Linked DNA regions of Homo sapiens: region 2 is linked to region 1. Evidence: promoter capture Hi-C in 16 types of primary human blood cells and fetal thymus (Javierre and others, 2016). All regions are on one chromosome and are shown on one strand. The core of a region is centred on a gene start or on the middle of the fragment in contact, and the rest is flanking DNA. Distances in the headings are between cores, read along the strand shown.

The links. The method cuts DNA at HindIII sites, captures the fragments that hold promoters and counts their contacts. A CHiCAGO score of 5 or more calls a contact.
Region 2: a fragment that was not itself captured here is called in contact with the fragment with the promoter of ZXDA in region 1 in 3 of 17 cell types (total CD4 T cells, erythroblasts and activated CD4 T cells); the score reaches 10.2 in total CD4 T cells.

The regions. Positions count from the first base shown.
Region 1 is chrX:57,909,005-57,914,996 of GRCh38, forward strand. ZXDA (zinc finger X-linked duplicated A) reads right to left here and starts at 1,454. Exons shown (of 1, transcript NM_007156.5): 1 at 1-1,454. The coding sequence starts at 1,416. RefSeq lists a silencer at 622-881. The HindIII fragment of the contact is 7,022 bases long and covers 1-3,571 here.
Region 2 is chrX:56,988,166-56,994,673 of GRCh38, forward strand. It overlaps SPIN3 (spindlin family member 3), which reads right to left. Exons shown (of 2, transcript NM_001010862.3): 2 at 2,666-6,508. The coding sequence ends at 6,006. Among named protein-coding and RNA genes, the nearest start is that of SPIN3, 4.1 kb to the right of the region's middle. The HindIII fragment of the contact is 1,095 bases long and covers 4,555-5,649 here.

The sequences.
Region 1 (5,992 bases), core at 204-2,703:
CCTTTTGTGCCTTAAGAGTTTGGACATGCTGGTGAAGTTCCAGCCACAGCCATCAAAGTCACAAAGGAAAGGTCTCTCGCCGGTGTGACTCCGCAGGTGAATTTTCAGCCTACAAGCCTTGTCATATTGCTTGCTGCAGCCAGGGAAAGAGCAGGAAAACAGTTCCTGTTCCCTGAAATGGGCGCGGTTATGGGAAAACAGAGCACTCACTGTGATAAATGTCTTCTTGCAGCCAGAAAACGCGCACTGGTAAGGCCTCTCGGGTTCGAAGTGGCTGCGCTGGTGGGCGCCGAGTTTGGCCTGCGTGGGGAAGCTCTCCTCGCACACCTCACATTTGAACGAGTTCTCCTGCTCATGGCCCTTCATGTGCGCCTTGAGGTTGTACACGGTGGTGAAGCTCTTGCCACAGCCCTCCGCAGGGCAGCCGAAGGGCCGCAGTTTATCGTGCGACTGCAGGTGCCTCTTGAGCTTGTAAGAGGTGGTGAAGGTCCAGCCGCAGCCACCCAGGGGGCATTTGAAGGGCCTCTGGCCCTGGCTGCTGCTGTGCGTCAGCAGGTGCATCTTCAGCTGGTGCTTCTTGGCGAAGGTTTGCCCGCACAGCGCCTCGGGGCACAGGTACAGCACCACGCCTGGACCAGAGCCCAGCAGTCCGCGGGGGCCCAGGGCGGCGGCCAGGCCCTCCGCCTCCTCCTGGGGCGCCGGAGCAGGCGCGGGTTCTGCGGGCTCGGCTAGCAGGAGGTCGGACCGCAGCTCTGGGCAGTCACCCGGGTGCGCGGCTTGCGGGAACCCAGCTTGGGGGGCGATCAGACACCTGGGCTGCTGGGCAGGAGCGGCCCCTGGCTCCCAGGCGTGTGGTGGGGGCGTGGCCAGGGTGAGGACGCCGTTCTCAAAGCGCAACAGCAGGTCCTGGTTGTGGATAGTGACTGTGCCCGCGAAGGCCGCGGCGGGGCCGGGGGCGGAGATCGGGGCCGGAGTGGGAACCGCGGACAGGCAGTGGGGGCCCTGCGCAGAGCAGCCCGCGGGGTTCGCGCCGCTCTCGTCCCCCTGGAGCCCCGGGCCCGCCTTGGCCTCCTCCCTCAACACAGGCCCTGCGGCCTGACCGGAGCCCGCGGTCTCCACGTCGCCACCCACCGGGTCAAGCAGCACCAGGAAGAAGTCGTCGCCGCCGCCGCTAGGTTGATGGGGCCTCGGCGCGAACAGGCTTGGGCCAGGGCCCCGTGATGCCGTGCTGGCCTCCTCGCGCCGCCGCCCGGGCCCGCCATCTTGGGGGCCCCGGGGCAGCAGGAGGCGGCGCGTGGGGACCTGGCCAGCCGGCGAGTCAGGGCCTCGGTGGACTCGGCCGCCACCCGCGGGGATACCGCCGCCGCCGCCGCCCTGTAGTGTCCCGCGAGCCGGGAGCAGCTTCGGGATTTCCATCTCTGCGTCCGAGAGGCTCGGCTGGAACCAGAGCCGAGGAGGAGGCGCGATCCCGCCCCCTGCCGCGGGCCTGAACACGTTCCTGAAAGGGGAAAAAAAAATGTGCAATGCGCAGAAACTGGCCCTATCAGATATTAAAATGTATTCAACGCCACAGTGATTTAAATATTCTGGTACTGGGTCTCTGGAACGGAATAGAAAGCCCAGAGGTAGAGCCTGGTATGCATAAATATATTCTACAATTAATATAAGTAATTAAGGAGGTCTTCTGAAGTAATGGGGAAATGACGACATCTTGTTCAATAATGCTGTGGAACACCTAGGTATCTATCTGGTAAAAGCAATTTTAATCCGTGACTCATTGTATATACCCAAATAAACACACGCCAGCCCCTCCCAGTGTTAGACATGTTGCTTCATACTTTTTGTGTGTTAAAATTTGTTTATTGGCTGGCTACCTGGCTGGATTGATGGATGAAAGACAATTCCTGAGAGAAAAAACTGTCTCTGTGTCAGCATTAAACCACCATAGTGCTGGCATTTCTGCGGAAATTGCCCTTCCCCTTCCCACCTCTGCGCGGGACAACTTCCATACTCACAATTGTCTTGAGCAAAGTGCTCGGTACAATTTGCCACATAGTTCAATTTTTGTCTGCTGATAACAGAGATTAGAATGAGTGAGAGATGCGGCCAAAACAGATTAGCACTCTTCAGCCTACAAATGCAAAGTCTGGAGGATGAAACAATTTATACTGAAATCTGGAAAAAAACCCAACCCGCCCCTGGCTTCTCCCTATACAGTGCACAACCTAAACCAACTCTTTGCCCTTCGACGATCGGTTGTACCATGATAAACTTCATGTCCACTCTCATAGCACAATGAGGGCATTGCTCAGTTTATTCTGCATTCTCCAGCACATTCTCTGGGCAGGAGTTCCAGTTAAATGTGTTAAGGTTAAACCCTCAGTCACTCAATGGACTCTGCCAAGTAATGTGCACAGACGATCTTGTCCACTCGCCCCGGTGTACCTGCTCACATTTAAGTGTGGTGGCCCAGTCTTGCTGGGCCTTTGGTGCCTAATGTCCTTATTAATGATGACGACAATCCTCCAATTTGTCTGTCACGAATGAGTTTGGAATTGACACAAATATAGGGTGAAATATCTGAGATGAGAAGGCTTAGAGTGATGAACAGATTGGTGGTGGTGGGGGTGGGGGGGTGTAACCTGTTGTTTAAATACTCCCAGCTCTCTCGCCCTCTTTTAATAACAGTGGACACTTGGTCTCTTGAAAATCAAGTTTTTCAACCATAACTATTCGAACCTCATCAAAATTTCTACTCCACATACTTTTCTTTCTATTACTTTTTCTGGAGGAAGCACTTTTCAAATCTGAAATTAGAAGAGTGCATATAACGTATCTGTATAGTTTAGATTATTTTACAAAAGCAGACACCTACTTAACCAGGACCAAGGTCAAGCAATAGACCACTGCCAACCTCCCAGAATACAGCTGCTGTACTCCTTCCAGTCACAAACCACACTCTCCTATATAGATATAGTAATTGCTCCGACTTTGTAATAATCATTTCACTGCTTTCCTTTATAGCTTTATCACTTTTGTACGCATCCCTAAACAATAGAGTTGATATGAAGTTGTATAAGTGGAATCATACGGCATGCTTCCTTTTATAGCTTGCTTTTTTCACTCTGTATTATACTTGAGAGACTCGTCCATGTTGTTCATAATAGCTATAAGTAAGTAGATCCTTTGTCTCCATCGACTGTCTTTCCAGCATATGCTTATAGCAAAGTGATTATTGTATGATTATTCCACTCCATTCTACAGCAGATGGAGATTAGGATTGCTTCTACTTTTCAATGATTATTGTGAACATTCTTGCACATTTCTAATGGGACACGTGTAAAAATCTCTCTAGGGTATATATCCAAGAATAGAATCACAGGGCCATAGGGAATGGATATCCTCAGCTTTACTAGATGATGCCAAATTGTTCTCTGTAGTGATTGGGAGAGTTGTCAATCCCACCAGCAGCATAGAGAGTCCTTACTGATCCACATGTTCACCTACACCAAGTATTGCCCGAATTTAAATTTTGCCGGTCTACTGGTGGGCAATATCCAAATTACTATTAAGCTTTAGCACATTTTTGTGTTAATGAGCCTTTTGGAGTTTCTATTTTGAGGAAGGCCTATTCAAATTTACCTCTTTTAACCCACGTTTCTATTTTATTGTTCATCTGATACTGACTTAATGAGTCTGTTAAATATTTTAAATACTCTTCCACACCTGCGGCCAAAATACTCCCTTGCTCTGTTTGTATATTCACTTGCTTTGTGCTCCGGTTTGTGAACAGAAGCTATTAATTATAATATAGTCAATTTCATCATTCTTTTCCTGATGGTTAGTGCTTTTTTGTTTTAAGAAATCTTTTCTGTTTTAAGGAACCCTGGACCATGAAAGCATTCTCTATATTTTCTTCTAAAATATGTCTGCTATTGTCCTTCATAGTCAGGTCTTAATCCACCTGCAATTGATGTTTGTGTATTGTGTTAAGTAGAGTTCCATTTATGTATATATGTATGTAAGTAAGTGAATATCCAGTTTTCTCAGTGAACCACTTATTGAAAAGTCTGCCTTTTGCCAGTTGATTTACAGTGCCATAAATCAAGTATCTACACATATGTGGGCTAGTTCTATACTCTCTATTAAGCACTTGTCTGTTTGAAATACCACACTGTCTTAATTACTACAGATCCATAGTCAATTCTGATATTTGGATTAGGCAAATCAATTCTACCTTGCTCTTCAAAAGTGTCTTGGCTACTTTTGGTCCATTTCAATTCCATTTAAATTATAAACTAATCGTAAAAACTTCAACCAACAGCTAGTTTGGGGTTCTAATTTGAATTGTGCTGATATTTTAGATTTGACTTCTCAATATTGAATGTTCGATTCGTGGTTATGGTCTATCTCTTCTGTTAATAAGATCACCTTTAATTTGCCCAAATATTATTTTATATTTTTCCCACAAGGCAACTTTTTTATCCTAGGCATTTAATATTTTGCAAATCATATGTTTGAAATTTTTATTGTCTAAATTTATAGCTCTAAATAGCATACAATTGGCTTTTGTTCGTTAAGATTTTATCCTATAAGCATATAAACTCTTCTATCGATTCTAATAATTTGTCTGTAATACTTTGTAGAATTTTATATACACTGTCATATCATCTGAAAATAGTTCCAGTCTTTCTTCTTCCTTTCCAAATATCTTATTCCTTTTTCTTGCCCTACTGCTCTGCCTGGGACCCCGCCCCTACCCCCAGTAAACTATTGCATAGAAGTGGTGATAGTGGATATCCTTACTTGATGTAGCTCTTGAAGAGAAAGCTTTCAGTGATTCTCCATTAAGAATGATGCTTGCTGTAGATGTTGTGTTCTGCAGCAATATGGATCCAATCAGGAGATAGAAAGCACACAGTGATCTAGAAGGGGAAAATTTAATATAAAGAATCATTAAGCGATGATAAAAGATCTTGTATAGGATACAAGACAACTCTATGTGGGGTTTTCTGGGGCTGGGAGAGAGTACCCAAGGAAAGACAAGCTTAGAATGAAAGCTTCTCCCCAAGGATGGATTTTATACCTAATTGGAGAAGAACCTACTGGATGGCAGAGAAGTTCCACTGGTTTGCCAGTACCTAAGCTGGTCTACAGAGGCAGAACTGGTCTACGGTCGCAGAGGAAGCAAGAAGGCACCCTTTGGAGCATGGTAGTGTGGACAAGCCATAGCTGGTGCCTAGTATGTGGTGTGAAGTAGGGGTTGGGAGTCCTGTCTCAGTTGGAGGCCTGGAGTAAACAATGCCCCTTGCACAGGATCAGGGTGGGGGCTCGGTGTTGAGAGGGCTGCAGTATTGAAAGGACTACATGAACCTGGTCGTGTGTGTGTGTGTGTGTGTGTGTGTGTGTGTGTGTGTGTGGCTGCGGAGCAAGTGAGCAGAGGGAAGCAGTGGGCAGATGACTTGGAGTACAGGATGTCCCTATCAAGAGGGCCACAAGAAGCTGATCATCAGGGCACACCAGGACTGCAGGTTTACTGAGGGACAGTTGTTCTGGGCCCAGGCCTGGGACAAAGCATCCTGAATGTCCTTACCTCCACACCTCTGAGAGCCAGAAATCATAGAAGTACCCTTCCTTTTTCAATGTCTGTCCCTCCAGAGCCCTCTATTAAGTAAGTGTAACATCGTGCTCTTTGATGCTACTTTAAAGGAGAGATGCTTAAAGAATCCCTCTATTATCGAAGAATATATATTGACTGGTGAATTTGGAGCTAAGAGGTAATAAATAGATAACTGGCTTCATATCCTTTATCAGGTTAGAGGAGTCCAGGCTCTCTGTAGTCAGTATGAATAGTAGGCACCCTACCTGCCAGGGTTATAGTTGTTGATTGCACAAGGGAGATTATCTACCACCCTGTTTTTGCTTTGGTAAGCCTACACTTCACCAGTGGGTAATATAACCATGTAACAAAACTGCGCTTGTACCTCCTAAA
Region 2 (6,508 bases), core at 3,852-6,351, 920 kb before region 1:
TCAGATCTGTGCTTCTTAGGCCAAGATCAAGCATAACATCTCCATTGTTGAAATGGGCCTACTTGAAAACAGTGAAAGAAGAAAATAAAACTTTGCTTGTTTACTCACTGGTTTTGTGAAATCCCAGTGGAAAGAGACGTGGGTAATTTGGAACTTTGTATGATTTGAAAAGCCAAGTTTTTTTTGCCCCAAATTAAGCTTAGTGAGAACAAGGGCAAGCAGATGGAAGACTTATTAGGAAATAAGATTGGAGCAAGAAAAACCTAATTTCCTAGATCAGTGTTTCCTAATCATTACTGATGATAAAGAATCACCTGAGGTATCTTGTACAGCTGCCCCAGGTCCCTTCCCAAGAGATTTTGATTCATTACATCTAAGATGGGACTCAGCAATTTATATTTAACAATCACTCCAGGTAAATCTTATCAGGTAAGTATAGGAAATAATAACTCTGACCTCACTCAATTGCCACCTATAAATCAGTGATTTTCAATGTGGGGTCCCAGCAGCATCAGTCTCATGTGGGAACTTGTTATAAATATAAGCCTGTGGACCCCACCCTAGACTTGCTCAATCAGAATCTCTGTAAGAGGGCCCCAGAAATCTGTATTTTAACAAGTTCTCAAGGTGATTCTGGTGTGTACTAAAGTGAGAGCTACTGTACTAAATAATCTCTAATTATAGCCAATAATTTAAAAACCTCCAATTGTTCAACCCCCAGGTGCAAGAAGTGGCGTAGAATGCCCAGTTCAACCCCCAAAAAGGGCATCCACCCAAGATATGCCTCCAAGAGAGAACGTCTCAGAAAACACAAAGAGGTATTTGACCAAAGGAGTCACTCAACTGCCAGGATAGGTAGTCCTTGTCTAACAGGTTATGATATATGCTTTGGACCAGAAGCTACTATGTATTGTTTCCTATTTCCTCCCTTTTTCAAATGGTAGTTTTGATTATATTTCTCTGGTTATCTCCCCACTAGTGTATATTGGGTATGTTGAGAAGAGTAGTTTATAATTTAAGTATAGGTGACCAGACTGCAAGGAAGATGGATCTAAAGATGGCTGCATATCAACTAGGGATCTTGAACTTAACGCTAAATGCAGTAACTAGATAAGACTTCAGGTTTTTCTCCTTTGGGGACATGAATTTATCACACCTACATGTGGGCATTCTTTGAAAGAGGATGTGTAGGAAGAAATGTGTCCATGGATACTAGGTATTCAAATGAAGAAGCTATACTAGATATTTGTGATTGGTGAATAGCATTCATTATTCATTTACCCAAAGCCCTTGATTCTACTGGAAATCCATCTGGTTTCAGAGAGATATACCCTAGTGCAGGGGTCCCCAACCCCTGGGCCACTGACAAATACTGGTCCATGGCCTGCTAGGAACCAGGCTGCACAGCAGGAGGTGAGTGGCAGGTGGGTAAGCAAGCGAAGCTTCATCTGTGTTTATAGCTGCTCCCCATCACTTGCATTACCACCTGAGTTCTGCCTCCTGTCAGATCAGCAGTGGCATTAGATGCTCATAGGAGCATGAACCCTATTGTGAACTGTGCATGCAAGGAATCTAGGTTGCATGTTCCTTATGAGAATCTAATGCCTGATGATCTGTTGCTGTCTCCCACCACCCTCATTTGGGACAGTCTAGTTGCAGGAAAACAAGCTCAGGGCTCCTACTGATTCTACATTATGGTGAGTTATATAATTATTTCATTATATATTAGAACATAATAATAGAAATAAATTGCACAATAAATGTAAGGCATTTGAATCATCCCCAAACCACCCCCCTCCCCTCACCCACCCTGTCCGTGGAAAAATTGTTTTCCATGAAACCAGTTCCTGGTGCCAAAACAATTGGGGACCACTGCCCTAGAGGTTAGGGATGGAACACCTGACCTTGCTAAGCCAATCAGTGTATTTCATCCCTGAGATTTTAGTGATTGGTCAAAGTATCTGACCTAAGCCAGCTGAGAATACATCATAGGACACAGGTTATCTATCTTTCTCTAGATTGGACTGCTGTAGCCTGGAACTGCTGGTCCAATTTTGCTACCATAAGAAAAAACAGCCTGAGAATGAAACTGACACACAGAGGGAAAATCCTAAAGAATCATAAACACTGAGCCTGAGCCCCAATTCAAACTATGCCTGAAGCCCATCTGAGCTCTAGATTTTTTTTAAATTTATATTGATCAACGTTTGGTAACAGTTTAAGCCTGTTTGAAATGGGTTTCCTGTTACATGCAGGCAAGTTCTGTTAGAAAAGGCAAATCAAAGCTATAAATATGAATTTGCATATTGCAGTAGATGTGAGTGCAAGTTTAAACAGAAAAAAATAATTGTTCATTTCATTTCTGGTTTATTAATTATATAGTACCTTAACTTTCCCCACAGCTTCAATATATAATTGGTTTTCCTTTTAACTTCCCTCAGTAAAAATATACTGGCCTCTCTTGAGAAGTTCCTCTCAGAGAATACGTTATGTTCACATATATTTCACATTCTACTTTTGAGAAAAATTGGACTGGCAGAAATTGTGGGTTTGTAGGGTCATGTAAGTTTTCATTAAACTGGGTTAGGGTCTGAAGGTTTGAATTAATTACACCTCCTTCCCTTCCAGATTCTGAACCAATTAAAAAATATACACAGGAATCAAATAGGGATTAAGATATCAGCTTTAATATATTGTTCAGTGAAAAAAGCAAAATTCAGAACAGCATGTATAGTATGCCACCATTTGTGTAAAAAAAAAAAAAAAACCTGATACACACATACCCACACACAATATGCTTGTAAATACATGGAATATCTCTGGAATGATACATCAGTAACTGGTAACAGTTGTTACTTTTTGAAAATGGGACCAGGGAACTGAGGCCAGGGGTGAGAAGGAGGAAGAGAGACTTACTTTTTAATAGTATACCCTTTTATACTGTTTGACTTTTACCATAGGCATGTGTTATTTTTCTAAAAAACAATTTATATATTAAAACTGTAAAAAAGAATCAAAATAGATACCAGCTTTATAGCTGATAGAGCTGGATTGGAGAACATGGCTTGGACCTGAGGCTGAAATGAACTTCTATCATAAGTCTAACGACTTTGGGATTCCCCCACCCCAAGGAGAGATAGTTGGGTCTAGAAAGCAGATGTTTACCCAGCCATGTAGTGAAGGACTGCAGTCTTTCCCACATCTTGCTGTGTGGAACGAACTCAAGATCCAAGAGTGGCCTAAGCTGCCTATCCATTATAACCATTTTCTCAATCTCATCAAGTTATTCCTCCTCCCAAGCATAAGATTGAATGAGTGTAAGAGAAGATGGGTAGAACTTTCTTCCAAACATTTTTGAGAGATGCAAGTCTTTTCCTTTTCTTGAGTCAGGAGCATGGAGAGAGGAAGAGGATAGATCCCATCATACCCTTGTACATTTTCATTCTCTTAAGCCACAATGGTTAATGCTCAAGACTCTGGTCAACAAACAGGGCTGTGGCTGTCCCCTTCCAGGGAGACCAACAGTATCTTAGAAAAGTTCTGCTCCCATCAATGTAAGATTGGTGAGCAGTTGTTTTTGCCCCCAAGAGGCTCTGAAATAAGTCAAAATAGAACAGTAATTAAATTAACTCTAAGGCTACATTACACCCTAGACTGAAAATTTGATCACAATTGCAGCCCTAATTTACAATTATGTCCAGCCATATTTCCTGACATAGCTGACAACAATTATACAATGACTCCCAAAGATAGCATTAAAATACTCCAAATAATACAATATCAACAACATAATAAAAATGCCTTAGTTTGAACTATATGACCTCACCCCCACCCCATCAACTATTAAACTCCAAGGGAAAAAGGACTGCCCAAAATTAAATTTCTAATTCAAAGTCCAAAATAATTAAAGTCCAAAATTCTGCCTTTCCCAATTTCTCGTTTTTCTCATTTCAGCCATATAGATCTCACAAAGATGTCTGCCCAGATATGGGGTTCCTTCAGCAGCTGCAGCCTTGGCTGTCTTCCTCTTGACTGGGTGAAGTTCCTTCAGGACCTCAGGAGTTGAATTAATCTAACCCCACAATTGCATGTCATACATATTAAAGAGTCCAAAGGGTCAAGAAGACATAAGATTATCACAATATCAACCTCACATCAAAAAAATTAGAAAGCACACTAGTCCCCAGCCACTAGAACAGTTTTTTTAAGCAAATATATGACCCCAGGACTTAGAACATAGGGCAATACAGACCCACATTGCTGTTGTCAGTCAAACATCATAGTAGAGACTTAGTGGCATCAAAAAGCAAAAGTAGACAGATAAAACATAGGAGAAAAGAGAACATCTTCTTTGTTTCATCCTCAGCAGGATGCCAATCTGTGCCGGTAGTCTGGACTCCATGACCTGTGAACTTAAACTAATTTGGAAGATATCTTGCAGTACAGTCCCAATATGATTGTACTGCCTTGAGTCCCAGCCCCAAATGTGCAGAACTCCATGGCCTTATTAGGCTGTTACTGCTAATGGAGCTTCTGTGAGAACCTCAATGAGAAAGCTTTGGTTTTGGCCAGGTGCTTCTCTCAAAAACCATGCTTGTACTTCAACTTTTCTTTCCTAGGCTTTGGTTAACCTCCGCCAATGGCTCTTTAATAATGGAAAGCTCAAAGGCCCTTCCATTGTTTACTTTTCTGCCACAGTAGAACTCACCCTTATCTGCATATAAGTTTCTTAGGGCCAGCCAAGAAACAGGATAGTTAAAAATCCAAACACTAACAAAAATCTATTAGATTTCTATCTACCAATGCCAGCACTTAAAACATCATTAAGCCTACAGATTACCTACCACTGACTGTGTTCCAAGTCCTGCTGGGATACCATAATAGATGAGCCCACCAGTCCCTGCAAGGAAGTATAGCCTGCTTTCAGCCATTCTTGGTTCTCACAAGTGCCTTGCCCACCTCACATGCTGGGACTCTGAATTCAGTCTCCTAAGAATCAAATCTAAAACTTGAGTCTCTCTTAGCACAGCAAAGAAATCTGTATCTCAGTTTGATTCTAGGTTTCTCCTCTTTCATTTTGAGGTTCTGGACAGATCTGTCCAAACCCAGCCAAACCCAGCCTTTGCCTGTGACTGAGGGCTCTAGCTAGAGCCTGGCTTAATGCTCCTCTGGGCTGGCAAAGACCATTTGTGCTAAAGTCTGCCTGCACAGCTTCTATCAGTTAAAACCTACTCCATGTCTGCAGATACCAGCCAGAGCTATTGGAGACAAGAGAGACCCTAATGCCACTGATGACTAAAACCTTTCACTTAAGCTCCACCAGAAATCTTGATCTCTCCACTTGGAGTTTGGTCCCCAAATGCTTGTCTTCTTATCAGTTTTGCAAGGTTTCTCAGCCTATGGTTAGGTACTAAAATGCAAAGTAATTACCTTCTTAATTCTAAAACAGTTGAGCAATAGGTGAAAGAACCGGAAAGAGAGCAAAATTATTAGCCTTACTTTTAGTACAGTTAGAACTGAGAATGCAACTTGAACAAGAGACCAAAATGGGCTTCCCACTCTTTCCCAAGTTAGATTTTTGAAGCCACTTGGGGGAGATTTGAGATTGCAAAGACACTTACCCAGCCAGTCACATGGGATATCTCAGCAAGCTTCACACCTCAATGAGTGTAGAGTCCAAGTGCCAAAAAGAGTGAGGTGAGAGGTGTTCAGCTACCTTTAATCTATTAACACCACCCAAGATAAAAAAAAGTATGAGCCAATGGATGTCAGACTTTACCCTTCTCACTAATCAGTTAAATTGCGGAGAGGAACCAGTGAAAAGGTTGGACAGATGGGCAAAAGGTTTCTTCCAAAAACGTATGAGAGGGCAGAAGTTCCAATTTTTTTGCCAAGCAAAACGTGCAAAAAGGGAGAAGATGGTTCTTACAAACTGGAAAGCAATCAAGACTTTCTGTGTCTACAGATTTAGAGTCTCATATATTTGGCAAATTTCAAGATGACCTCTAAGATGTTTTTACCAAATCGTAGACATAGATATGGAAATCATCATCAAATTTGATGAAGTACACAGAGGGTTTTGCTTCTACCTGATGAATGACCATGCCAGTTCTCTTGGAGCCATCGTCTTTGGCGTATTCCACCTGTTTGCCTACCAGGCTGTCTATGACTTCTCCTGGCTCCCTCTCTGCCAGAGGAGAATCATTGGAATCTTGAAGGATGCGGAGGTCACCATCTTTATAATCATCTAAGAGCTGGTACATATATAATACAGGATCTTTCTCATAGGTAATGTAAAACCATGTGTTCATGACAGGTGCCTGAGCTAAGACCATCCCCCTCCATTCATTTTTGGAACCTTCCTCTGTCTCAAAAATATGTTCCACTGCTTTGCCAACCATTATTTCTGCCAAGTGTGTATCACTGATTCTAGATGATGCAACTCTATTAGGAAGGACTTCAAGTGATGACACTCTTTCATCTCTGTGAAGTTCCAATCCATAAACAC